Linked DNA regions of Homo sapiens: all the other regions are linked to region 2. Evidence: promoter capture Hi-C in 16 types of primary human blood cells and fetal thymus (Javierre and others, 2016). All regions are on one chromosome and are shown on one strand. Each heading gives the region's core, a stretch centred on a gene start or on the middle of the fragment in contact. The rest is flanking DNA. Distances are from core to core; before and after follow the strand shown.

Region 1 (3,790 bases), core at 457-2,956, 1.4 Mb after region 2:
CAAAGGATTAAGAGAGGTCTTTGGGAAAACTAGATAAACGCCTCCAAAACTTTTGCAAGTAAGACCCTGCAGCAAAAATCAAATGCACAGTGAAGGATAATGAGCCATATAAAAAATTATGTCCCTCCTCCAAAACAACATTTGAGTTACCAGAATTAGCACATACTTGCAGTTGTAACCTAACGTGTTAAATATAAGATAAATTCATTTTTATAAGTTTGGGTTGAATTTTTTTCAATATAAAGTTCAAATCAAGTCTTTTTCTTTCACTCTTTCACTATGGAATCTACATCTCTATCTTTAATGGATTCATTCTAAGAGGGCCTTTTCTGGTACCAATTATCTTTGGAAAAGAAAGACCTTTTGTACTCATCTCTGTTTTACAAGCATGTAATATATTTTAATACCACCACTCCCCCACTGGAAATTGTAAAAAATACAGACTCTTGGGTTCCTCTGCCATACCAATTTTGAATCTCCAGGTGGAGAACGGGAACTAGGAGTTAAAAAAAAATTCCATATTTTAATTTACTAATTATTTTTACTTCATTTTTTTTTTTAGAGGTGCAGTCTCACTATGTTGTCTAGGCTAGACTTAAACTCCTGGGATCAAGGGATCTTCCGGCCTCAGCCTCTCCAGTAGCTGGGACTACAGGTACATGCTACCACACCTGGCTAAACTCCCTTTTTTTTTAACACTCATCATAAGCAATCCTCGTGATAATCAGGCAAGTGTGGTAATAACTACTTTAACTCATCCAAAGCTTTCTTTATAGTAACCTTAAGAAATCTTCTTTAACCTAGTCAGCTGGTTTGAGGTAGGAGGTAGGACTCGGACACCGAACCAAATTGAGCACTAGCCTAAACAGGTCGGAGGTGGAAGCCGCTTTCCATCAGATACACACACCAGTGTGTCAGTTCATCATTGCCATGGCAACACCCAGGAGTTACCACCCCTTTCCAGGGCAATGACCTGATGACCCAAAAGTTGCTACCCCTTCCCTAGAAATGTCTGCATAAACTGCCTCTTTACTTTTTTGTCTGTTTGTTTGTTTGTTTGAGACGGAGTCTCGCTCTGTCGCCCAGGCTGGAGTGCAGTGGCGCGATCTCGGTTCACTGCAAGCTCCGCCTCCCTGGTTCACACCATTCTCCTGCCTCAGCCTCCCGAGTAGCTAGGACTACAGGCGCCCGCCACCACGCCCAGCTAATTTTTTTTTGTATTTTTAGTAGCGACGGGGTTTCACCGTGTAAGCCAGGATGGTCTTGATCGCCTGACCTCGTGATCCGCCCGCCTCGGCCTCCCAAAGTGCTGGGATTACAGGCGTGAGCCACCGCGCCCGGCCAAACTGCCAAATGTGGGTATAAATGTGACTCAAAGCTGGCCTGAGCTGGTGCTTTCTGCCTATGAGGTGGCCCTGCTCTACAGGAGCAGTCACGGTTGTGACACCACCAAAGCTGTAACACTGCCTCTTCAATAAAATTGTTTTCTTCTACCTCCGGGTTGCCCTTGAATTCTTTCCTGGGCAAAGCCAAGTTCCCTGGTTGCCTAAGCCCCACTTTGGGGCTCGCCTGCCCTGCATCAGTTCGTACTCGCTGGACTCATTCCTTTATCCTTTTATTCTTTTTACATGCTCTCCTTCCTAGATCAGTGTCTAATCTATACAGGTTTTGGAAACTTTATGTAGTCTTTAGAATTTTATAAACTGCTCTTGCTTTTCATATTGTATTATTTTCTTAGTATTTCAAAACACCTTTGAACAAGTCAGAATTTCCTTTTTTTTTCTCCTTTAAAATCGAGTCTGAGTAACTCGTCTTGTGTTCATTTTTTCTACATTCTCTCAGCCTGAATCCTCATGAGTCCATTTTGCTCTATATTCATCTGGACATTAGACTACTTTGAAATATTACCATTTCTGCCTATTCTTTCTGTACTGCCTGATTGTCAGCTCCCGAAAGGCAAACACCCCATCTTCCATTTTGTCTGGATTTCCCCCACTGAGCCTAGAAGATTGACTTAACACTGACTAGTGTGCTGTGTGCTTCACGCGGTGGGTGCTTAATAAATATTTTAAAACAGTATTAAAATGTTGAATAAATTTGACAGCAGTGCTGCTTCTCATCATTTCAAATGCCAACACTTTCTAGGTCCCTTTTCTAGCAACCATTTCCCAACATACCTACGCGCCCCCAGACGTTTCAGCCAAGCTGGGGCTCTCTTTTGATCCATCCTTCTTTGCCCGAGTTATGGAAATATTGTTTACATTTTTTCCCCTGAGGAGAAGGGGAACCCAAAGACCCTGCTGTGAAACTTGAAGTTGTTTTTCTCCTTGGTAACTGGGGAGAAGGAAGGACAGTAGGGACAGAGAAGGTTTTGTTTCTGATTACTTCAGTTTTCGCCCCAGATCGTCTTTTACAATAAGATACATGCCCCTATGAGTATTTTCATACCTGTAAGGATGTTTTTAATTCTTTGCATCTGAAGAGTGCTAAGGATTTTAGGCAAGAGGTTTTAGTATTTTAACTAAGATGTTTTCTCATGAGCTTTATTCAGTATCTCATTTTCTTCCTGACCTTCTATAGTCAGTCAGGCAACATTTCTCTTATAACATCATTTTTCCTATTAATCATTATTTCGTACCTGTGAAAAATAAGCTTACACTTAATGTTGTATGAATCTAGCATGGTAAAGTACAGAAAAGCTTATTCTCTTCTTCTTGGGTAGGGAATTCTGTTTTGCAAAGCACTTTGTGATCTATTTGTTAGCTTATTTAATCCTCACAACAACTTTGCTAGGTGGACAGGAGTCATTATCTCCAGGATAAGGAAAAGGAAACTCAGAGACTTTAAGTGACTTATCCAAGGTGACACAGCACGGTTAGACCCACAATGAAAACCCGGACTTCTGACTCCACAGCCAGTCCCACACAGCTCAACTTTACATAATAAGCCCTGGTTATGTCAGTAGAGACAAGGCTGCTAGGAAGAAGCAGCGCGGTGACAGATGAGTAGGTGGGGAGCGGCGGTGGGGCAGGGCGCACTGCGAGAAGAGCACTTCGCGCATGCGCATATCACCGAGCGAACGCGCCGTGTTCGGGAAGGTAGGAGAAAGAGGCGGAGCTCCTTGTTAACGACATCCCCAACCTCTGCTAACGCGCAGGCGCACTTCCTGAAGCTGAAGGTCAGCATAGACAAAGGGCCTCAGAATCGCGCAGGCGCAATTGTGCCCTGGTTCGCCAAGATGTCGTTCCCAAAGTATAAGCCGTCGAGCCTGCGCACTCTGCCTGAGACCCTCGACCCAGCCGAATACAACATATCTCCGGAAACCCGGCGGGCGCAAGCCGAGCGGTTGGCCATAAGAGCCCAGCTGAAACGAGAGTACCTGCTTCAGTACAACGATCCCAACCGCCGAGGGCTCATCGTGAGTGTGGGGCCTCCCAGGCGGGAATAGGGCCCGAGTCCTGGGAGAGACCGAGAGAGACCACGCAAAGGGTCGGCCACCGCTCCCGATCAGTATCTCAGACGCAGGTCCTCTTCCAGGCCTAGCCAACTCACTACCCTTTTACCTTTGCCAGAGCTTGGCCCTCGAGAGGACCGGCTCTGGACTCAGACCTGGCTGGGTTTGAATCCTGGCTTGATCACTTCCTGCCTGCGTGACCTTAAGAACGTTATTCACTCTGCTTATCCTCGATTTTCTGTCTGCAAAATGGGCGTAATATAGTGCTTACTCTTTTATCAGGCTGTTAGGATTAAATGAGATAGAGTATGTGACTGTCCTAGCACAGTGCCTCGT
Region 2 (3,768 bases), core at 1-2,500:
TCTATCCACTTCCCCTTAGATTATGTAGTCAAACAGTTCAATCCAGGTCAGTACTTTTTCACAACGTATGTTTTCAATCTGATCAAAGCTATAGGTAGACGAAAGTTATTGCAATTTCATGGGGTTTACAATTTCCATAAAGAACAAACCTGCTCTAGAAGACAAAATTCCAAAAACTTCTGAACTATATCCAATCAAGCATTATCTCCTCTCCCAAGAGAGACCTTCCAGCACTCCCCGCCTGGGTCTCGGGAATAGCCCTCCCTTCTGAATCCCAGTTTCTCAATCCGGACCCTGAATCCTATTCATCCTGATCTCTCCTTGATTTTCTTGCATCTTAAAGGTGTTATTTTCCTTTCTTTAAAAATTTAAAAAAAAAAAAAAAAGCCACAACTCGCCTCCACGCTCAGATTACCATTTTCTTTTTCCTCCTTTTCATCACCAAACGGCTGAGGAGGTCTACCAGTACCCTCACCACCGCCACGTCCCCATCCCTCACCCACTCTGGAACACTTTGCAACAGTGTGCACACCCACCCACTGTTGATAACTACTCTCCTAAGGCTACCAACCCATAGGCCTCTCCTCGATGCAGAGTCCTTTGGACTTTGTCTGTTTTTTTTCAAACCAAGAATTAACAGCCCTTATCTAATGGAAGACAGAACATCAAGGGATACAGATCAACAAACACTGGATGGCTGTCTCCGAAGTCTTTTATAATCCAGGTGACCAACCCCTTTGGAGAAAGGTCAAAGGTCGCCGGCCCCTCGCAGGACTGGGGCTGGTGTCAGCTGATCAGTTTCCCCGTTGAAACGCTGGAGAAGGAGGGTTTCCAGGAAGAAGGGGCTTTTTCAGGTTGATGCACCCGGCGGAGAAGTGCTGGGGGCGACCCCGGAATCGTGACCTGGGGTATGAATGAGCCCTGGATTTTTTCCTACCCGGCAGCACCTCGTCTGGCTCCCCCGGCCCGCAGCAGAGGCGGCGCCGCGCGGAACGCCAGCACCTGAGCCGGTGCCTCCCGCCAGGCTCGGCCTCCGTAGGCCCCCGGCCCGGCCCACCGCTCCGGCTGAGGCGGGACTGCCCCACGGACGCCGCCACGTCATCCCCACGCCCGCCCCGCTACAGCCCTGGGACTGACCCCGGCCGTCGCCCGGCTACCCTCGCACGGCGCCCGTGTCCAGGGAACTGCATTTCCCGGGCGCCGGCGGAGCCAGCGTACTCACCCCGGAGGCGGCCGCGGCGAGCTAGCACTGCCCGCGGAGAGGGGAGAACGCGGAAAGCAGCTCGGGGACCGCCCCAGCCGCCCGGGAGGCGGCTCTTGAGTACGAGCTCCGCCTCCCGCCTTGGCCGGAGAGGCTGGTCCGCCCGGCTCTGCACGCGCCTGGCGCTCCACCCCCGCCAAATCGACCACACCGGGCGCTGGAAGGAGCACCGGGAGGGAAACGGAGGGTTGACGCCTCGGCCTCTGGGTGGCTTTAAAACCCTGTGCCAATAGTAGACTGGGTGCTGAGCGCTTCCCAAATTCCATCCCCTTAAATACTCACAAAGCAGTAGGAAAGAGATAGGGACCCTTCCATTTTACAGAGTGGGAAACTGAGACTTTAGAGAGGCTAATAAACTTAATCACCCTGCGAGATTTCAGCCCTCTCAACTGCAAAAATGATAATAATAATAATAATATTTTTCCCATGTTGCAGGTCTGAGAATATTAAATGATTTTTTTAAATCCGTATTTCTTCAAAGATATTATTACAGAAAGCAAAGACAATTATATTTACACTAAAGATTTGAGTGAAAAATTATGGTAGGCTCTGTTTAGGCAGTCAGGATAGCTAGATTCTCTAATGCAGTCTCCCACTGCACTCACGGGAAAGTAGTAGATTCTCCAAGAACCACACATCCACTCCACCCAAAAAGGAACAAACCATAGCTAGAGCCAGTGCTGGGCTCATTAAGCTTCATAGCAGGAAATCTGAGGCTATACTGAGGCCGCATAGGCCCAATGTAGGCCCTTGGAAGCTGGAAAAGAGGGCCACCTAGTGGCAGTTGAGGATAGGTCAGTGAAATAGGTCAACACTGCTCCTGAACAAGGTCCAGTGTGAAACTTATTTTTTTGTGTTCCCTTTGTAACATGCTGTAAGGGTGTATAACCACATTTAGTGAAAAAGGACATTACTGGATTTCATCCAGTGGCGTTATACAATCAGTTACTTATACCCACATAGTCCCCAGGTCTTGAGCATATGATGCCTGGAAGCATAATATATACCTTTTGCAAGAATCACTCAGCTTTTCCCCTCCCCCTCCCCCTCTCTGTCTCCCTCCCCATCTCCCTCCCCCCTTTGCACGGTCCTCGTCTCCCCTTTGCATGGTCTCCCTCTGATGCCGAGCCGAGGCTGGACTGTACTGCCGCCATCTCGGCTCACGGCAGCCTCCCTGCCTGATTCCCCTGCCTCAGCCTGCCGAGTGCCTGGGATTGCAGGCGCGCACCGCCACACCTGACTGGTTTTCGTATTTTTTGGTGGAGACGGGGTTTCGCCGAGTTGGCCGGGCTGGTCTCCAGCTCCTGACCGCGAGTGGTCTGCCAGCCTCGGCCTCCCGAGGTGCCGGGATTGCAGACGGAGTCTCGCTCACTCAGTGCTCAATGTTGCCCAGGCTGGAGTGCAGTGGCTTGATCTCGGATCGCTACAACCTCCACCTCCCAGCCGCCTGCCTTGGCCTCCCAAAGTGCCGAGATTGCAGCCTCTGCCCTGCTGCCACGCCGTATAGGAAGTGAGGAGCGTCTCTGCCTGGCCGCCCATCATCTGGGATGTGGGGAGCCCCTCTGCCCAGCCGCCCAGTCTGGAAAGTGAGGAGCGCTTCTTCCCGGCCGCCACCCCGTCTAGGAAGTGAGGAGCGTCTCTGCCTGGCCGCCCATCATCTGGGATGTGGGGAGCGCCTCTGCCCCACCACCCCGTCTGAGAGGTGAAGAATGCCTCTGCCCGGCGGCGACCCGTCTAGGAACTGAGGAGTGTCTCTGCCCCGCCGCCACCCCGTCTGGGAGGTGAGGAGCGTCTCTGACTGGCCGCCCTGTCTGAGAAGTGAGGAGCCCCTCCGCCGGGCAGCTGCCTGGTCCGGGAGGTGGGGGGCAGCCGCCCAGCCAGCCGCCCCGCCCGGGAGGTGGGGGGGCAGCCCCCGCCTGGCCAGCCGCCCCGCCCGGCAAGTGGGGGGCAGCCCCCGCCCGGCCAGCCGCCCCGTCCGGGAGGTGGGGGGCGCCTCTGCCCAGCCGCCGCCCCGTCTGGGAGGTGGGGGCCCCTCTGCCCGGCCGCCGCCCCGTCTGGGAGGTGGGGGGCCCCTCTGCCCGGCAGCCCCGTCTGGGAAGTGAGGAGCCCCTCTGCCCGGCCACCACCCTGTCTGGGAGGTGTACCCAACAGCTCATTGAGAACGGGCCATGATGACGATGGCGGTTTTGTCCAATAGAAAAGGGGGAAATGTGGGGAAAAGAAAGAGAGATCAGATTGTTATTGTGTCTGTGTAGAAAGAAGTTGACATAGGAGACTCCATTTTGTTCTGTACTAGGAAAAATTCTTCTGCCTTGGGATGCTGTTAATCTATAACCTTACCCCCAACCCCCTGCTCTCTGAAACATGTGCTGTGTCCACTAAGGGTTAAATGGATTAAGGGCAGTGCAAGATGTGCTTTGTTAAACAGATGCTTGAAGGCAGCGTGCTCGCTAAGAGTCATCACCACTCCCTAATCTCAACTACCCAGGGACACAAACACTGCGGAA
Region 3 (3,608 bases), core at 206-2,705, 1.1 Mb after region 2:
TTTGACATACCTTACTTAAATAGGCCCTATTGACCTACTGACTGCAGAAAAAACAAGAAATAATCTAAGTAGAGAATCCTTTCATAAACCATTCTAGTTAGGAGGCAGCATACTGATGCAGTTAAAAGAGTGGGCTTTGGTTTTTATCAGATACAGGTTTCAAAACCCACCTCTGGAAATCAGATTTCTCTTACTTAATCTTGATTTTGTTACTTAATTTCTGTAAGGCTTGATTTCATCATCTGTATTATAAAATATATTATCTGTTCCATAGGGTCATTGTAAGGTGAAAATCTAAAGTGCTTAGCATAGTACCTAGCACAAAGTCAATACTCTGTAAGTAGTGGCAATTATTATTATTAGCTGTAATAGTAGTTAATGTTATAACTATTGCTCTCTGCCACTTGTTATATCATGATCAGGGTAGAAAAACAAAGTTGAGAACAGTCTTTACTCATGATTGCACAATTTCCTACATAAACCATGGTCCTCTGCTCTGGGCCATTCTGTGTCTTAGGGATTAGGATTTGGGAGGTTGGTCTGACCTCTCTTGCCCAAGATTTATGCTTATTGTCTTTTTTGTCTTCAAGGTATATCAGGACCTCATGCCTGCTAAACCCACTCCTACCTTTATTTTAGCCACCTCTGATTCAGACTGTCCTTTCTAAAGCACTGCTTTCATGATTTCAACCCATCTCTTTTCCTCCTGCCTTTACCCCATGTTTCCTCATTGCTTATCAGATGAAGGCCAGTTGCTTAGGCTAGCATGCAAGGTTTTGATTTATTTCCACTGCTAAATCCCTCTCAGTCTGGTTTATCCATATTGGCCTAGGATGGTTTAAAGTTCTGCCATCTCCCTGCCAATTGTCCAAATCTCAAAAACCGGTTACTCTATGTTTAGGGCAGCATTGAAAGTAGAAGGAGCTATAGTCTTTCAATCGATCCTGAGGAGGAGTTGGCTTCTATATTTATAGGGACCAAGAGTAAGTCTTCAGCCAGTTTTGTGATATAAGGTCTAGCAGTTTGATTTTCAGCAGTTCTTCCTCTGCCACAGTTTGCTATTGCTGTAGAATTGATAGATTAAAATGTCTCCTGAAATATGTCTCCGGGCTTCTTTATCGAAGTTTAGTCCCTTTTATTTTGAAGATTCAAATAATGACATCTTTGGATATCTTTGGAGTCTTTGACTAAGCATTTGTTAGAGCTATAAAAGCATCTTCATGGCTACTCCCGTTGAATTCACTCCATTTAGGGGTTTATCTTAGACCCGGTGCGGTGTTTTCCTTATTGATTGTTTTGGGAGTTGAAGTGACTATCTTTTAAATTTTATCCACTTGCTCAGCTTATGTTGGTTCCATATTGGCTTGTTTGACCTTTTCATAGATAGCTAGTCATAACTACAACTATAAATGAGCTAAAATAATTTTAATCCCTAATTCATTCACAGATAGACATTGAGTACCTACTGTGTGTAAGAAACTGTACTATATATTGCAAGGTATAAAAACTAGTAAGAATAATAGGTAATGTTTATTGGTTATTTTATAAGTGCCAGGCACTGTCCTAGGGGCTCTGTCTAGGGATTATTTTTATTTAATCCTCACATCCCTTCTATAAGGTACATATTATTATCATCATTCTTCAGACAAGAAAACCGAGATGTGGGAAAATTAACTAACTTGCCAAGTCACATATTTATGGTGTGCTGGATAACAACATAGTAAAATGTTCATGATTTTGTTCAAATACAATCACTGCCTTCAAGAGATTTACTGTCTGGTAACAGAGATTAAACATGAACCTATAAAGAAATCCAAGTTAAAAAGGGCAAAAGATCTGAGTAGACATTTCTCCAAAAAAGATATAAAAATCACTGATAAACACATGAAAAGGTGATCAACATCATTAGCCATCAGGGAAATACAAATTAAAATCACAGTGAGCTACTACTCATACCCACTAAGATGGCTAAAATATAAAAGACAGCTAGTAAGTGATGGTGCAGATGTAGAGAAATTGGAACCCTTATAGACCAATACTGGGGATGAAAAAGTGGTGCAGCCACTTTGGAAAATAGTCTGGCTGTTCTTCAAAAGGTTAAAAAAAATAGTTACCATATGATCCAGCAGTTCTACTCCCAGGTATATACCCAACAGAAATGAAAACATACGTCGTCACAAAAACTTACACATGAGTGTTCATAACAGCATTTTTCATCATAGTCAAAAAATAGAATCAAACCAAATCTCTACCAACTGATGAAGGATAAATAAAATGTGGTATTTACATACAATAGAACATTATTCAGCAACAAAAAGAAATGAAGTGCTGATACATGTTACAACATGGATGAATCTTGGAAACATTATTCTGACACATAAGTGAAAGAAACCAGTCATAAAAGAACACCTACTGTATGATTCTATTTATATGAAATCCTCCAAAATAGGCAAATCTTTAGAGACAGAAAGTAGATTAGTGGTTGCCGAGAGCTAGAGGGAAGGGAGAATGGGCAGTGGTTGCTAATGAGTACAGGGTTTCTTTTTGGCAGGATGAAATTGTTCTAAAATTCATTGTGGTGATGGTTGTACAACTATGAATATACTACTAAAAAATCATTGAACTGTACACTTTAAGTAAGTAAATTGTATGATAGGAAAATATATGAAGTATATATCAATAAAGTTATTTTTAAAAACATGAACCCAAAGTAACTAAAATATAAAATAACATTTGGTAACTCATACAGAAACATAACCAAAAGCTATCAAAGTTCAGAGGAAAAAGACCATTTAGGCTACCACAGTTAGGATAGCTTTCAGAGGACAATGGGATTTGGATAGAGCTGGGATGAAATATACAAAATTGAAGGAAAAAAGAAAATATTTCTTACAAAGCATAGCAAAAAGGAGAAAATTATAGCATATATTTGGGAAATGGTAAGGGGTCTGGTTTGGTTGGCATGCTTAGTGCTGATGGTTAGAATAGACAAATATTGATATGCTTTAGATAATTATGGGAGAAAATATTTAAAATTTTAACTTTGCCCCCAAAAATCTAAGGTGTACTGTTAAGATACAGCACAGAGGAAGAGTAGTAGACTTTGAAATGATAGGTGTGTCTAGGCCTTGGAGAAAGAGGTATGAATACTAGGTAGGAGATCACCTCTGATTCTGCCCTCACTGGAAGCTCCAGATCCCATTTCCTTAACTTGTGTTCTTTATTAGCCTTGCAGTCTTTTCACGAAGACTGCAAGGCTTGGGAGAGTCTGTGGATTGTGGCACCTGTAGAAATAGTCTTATATCTGAGTACAAAGTATTCCTCATGGTTTCTCAATACTGTGCTAGCATCAAGATATTCCTCCTCTGCTTCAGGTGAAAGTCAAATGTAAGTCAAGCCTCAGCCCCCATAGTATGAATTCGAGAAGTGACACAAACTGGTCATAATTATTTCATTCCGTTATATTCCAGTTGTTTTCTTGAGAAAACCAAAACAAAACCAGGGCTAAACAACAAATCCAAAACAAAAATTCTTCAATACGTTGTGTTAATGGATATAGCTTTATTTTGAAACTGCATAGTTGTTTCCTTCACTCAGCCACTAAAAGT

What was found. The method cuts DNA at HindIII sites, captures the fragments that hold promoters and counts their contacts. A CHiCAGO score of 5 or more calls a contact.
Region 1: a contact is called between a fragment that was not itself captured here and the fragment with the promoter of B4GALT4 in region 2, in 7 of 17 cell types (naive CD8 T cells, total B cells, non-activated CD4 T cells and 4 more). The highest score is 5.8, in naive CD8 T cells.
Region 3: a contact is called between a fragment that was not itself captured here and the fragment with the promoter of B4GALT4 in region 2, in 2 of 17 cell types (total CD8 T cells and non-activated CD4 T cells). The highest score is 5.6, in total CD8 T cells.

What each region holds. Positions count from the first base shown.
Region 1 is chr3:120,593,122-120,596,911 of GRCh38, forward strand. It overlaps NDUFB4 (NADH:ubiquinone oxidoreductase subunit B4), which reads left to right and starts at 3,215. Exons shown (of 3, transcript NM_004547.6): 1 at 3,215-3,418. The coding sequence starts at 3,239. RefSeq lists an enhancer at 3,286-3,625. The HindIII fragment of the contact is 1,888 bases long and covers 763-2,650 here.
Region 2 is chr3:119,239,628-119,243,395 of GRCh38, forward strand. B4GALT4 (beta-1,4-galactosyltransferase 4) reads right to left here and starts at 1,251. Exons shown (of 8, transcript NM_003778.4): 1 at 1,223-1,251. The region is part of intron 3 of B4GALT4-AS1 (B4GALT4 antisense RNA 1); the gene reads left to right. RefSeq lists silencers at 938-1,417, 2,068-2,117. The HindIII fragment of the contact is 11,429 bases long and covers 1-1,953 here.
Region 3 is chr3:120,353,199-120,356,806 of GRCh38, forward strand. It overlaps the pseudogene BTNL12P. Among named protein-coding and RNA genes, the nearest start is that of LRRC58, 5.6 kb to the left of the region's middle. The HindIII fragment of the contact is 8,642 bases long and covers 1-3,608 here.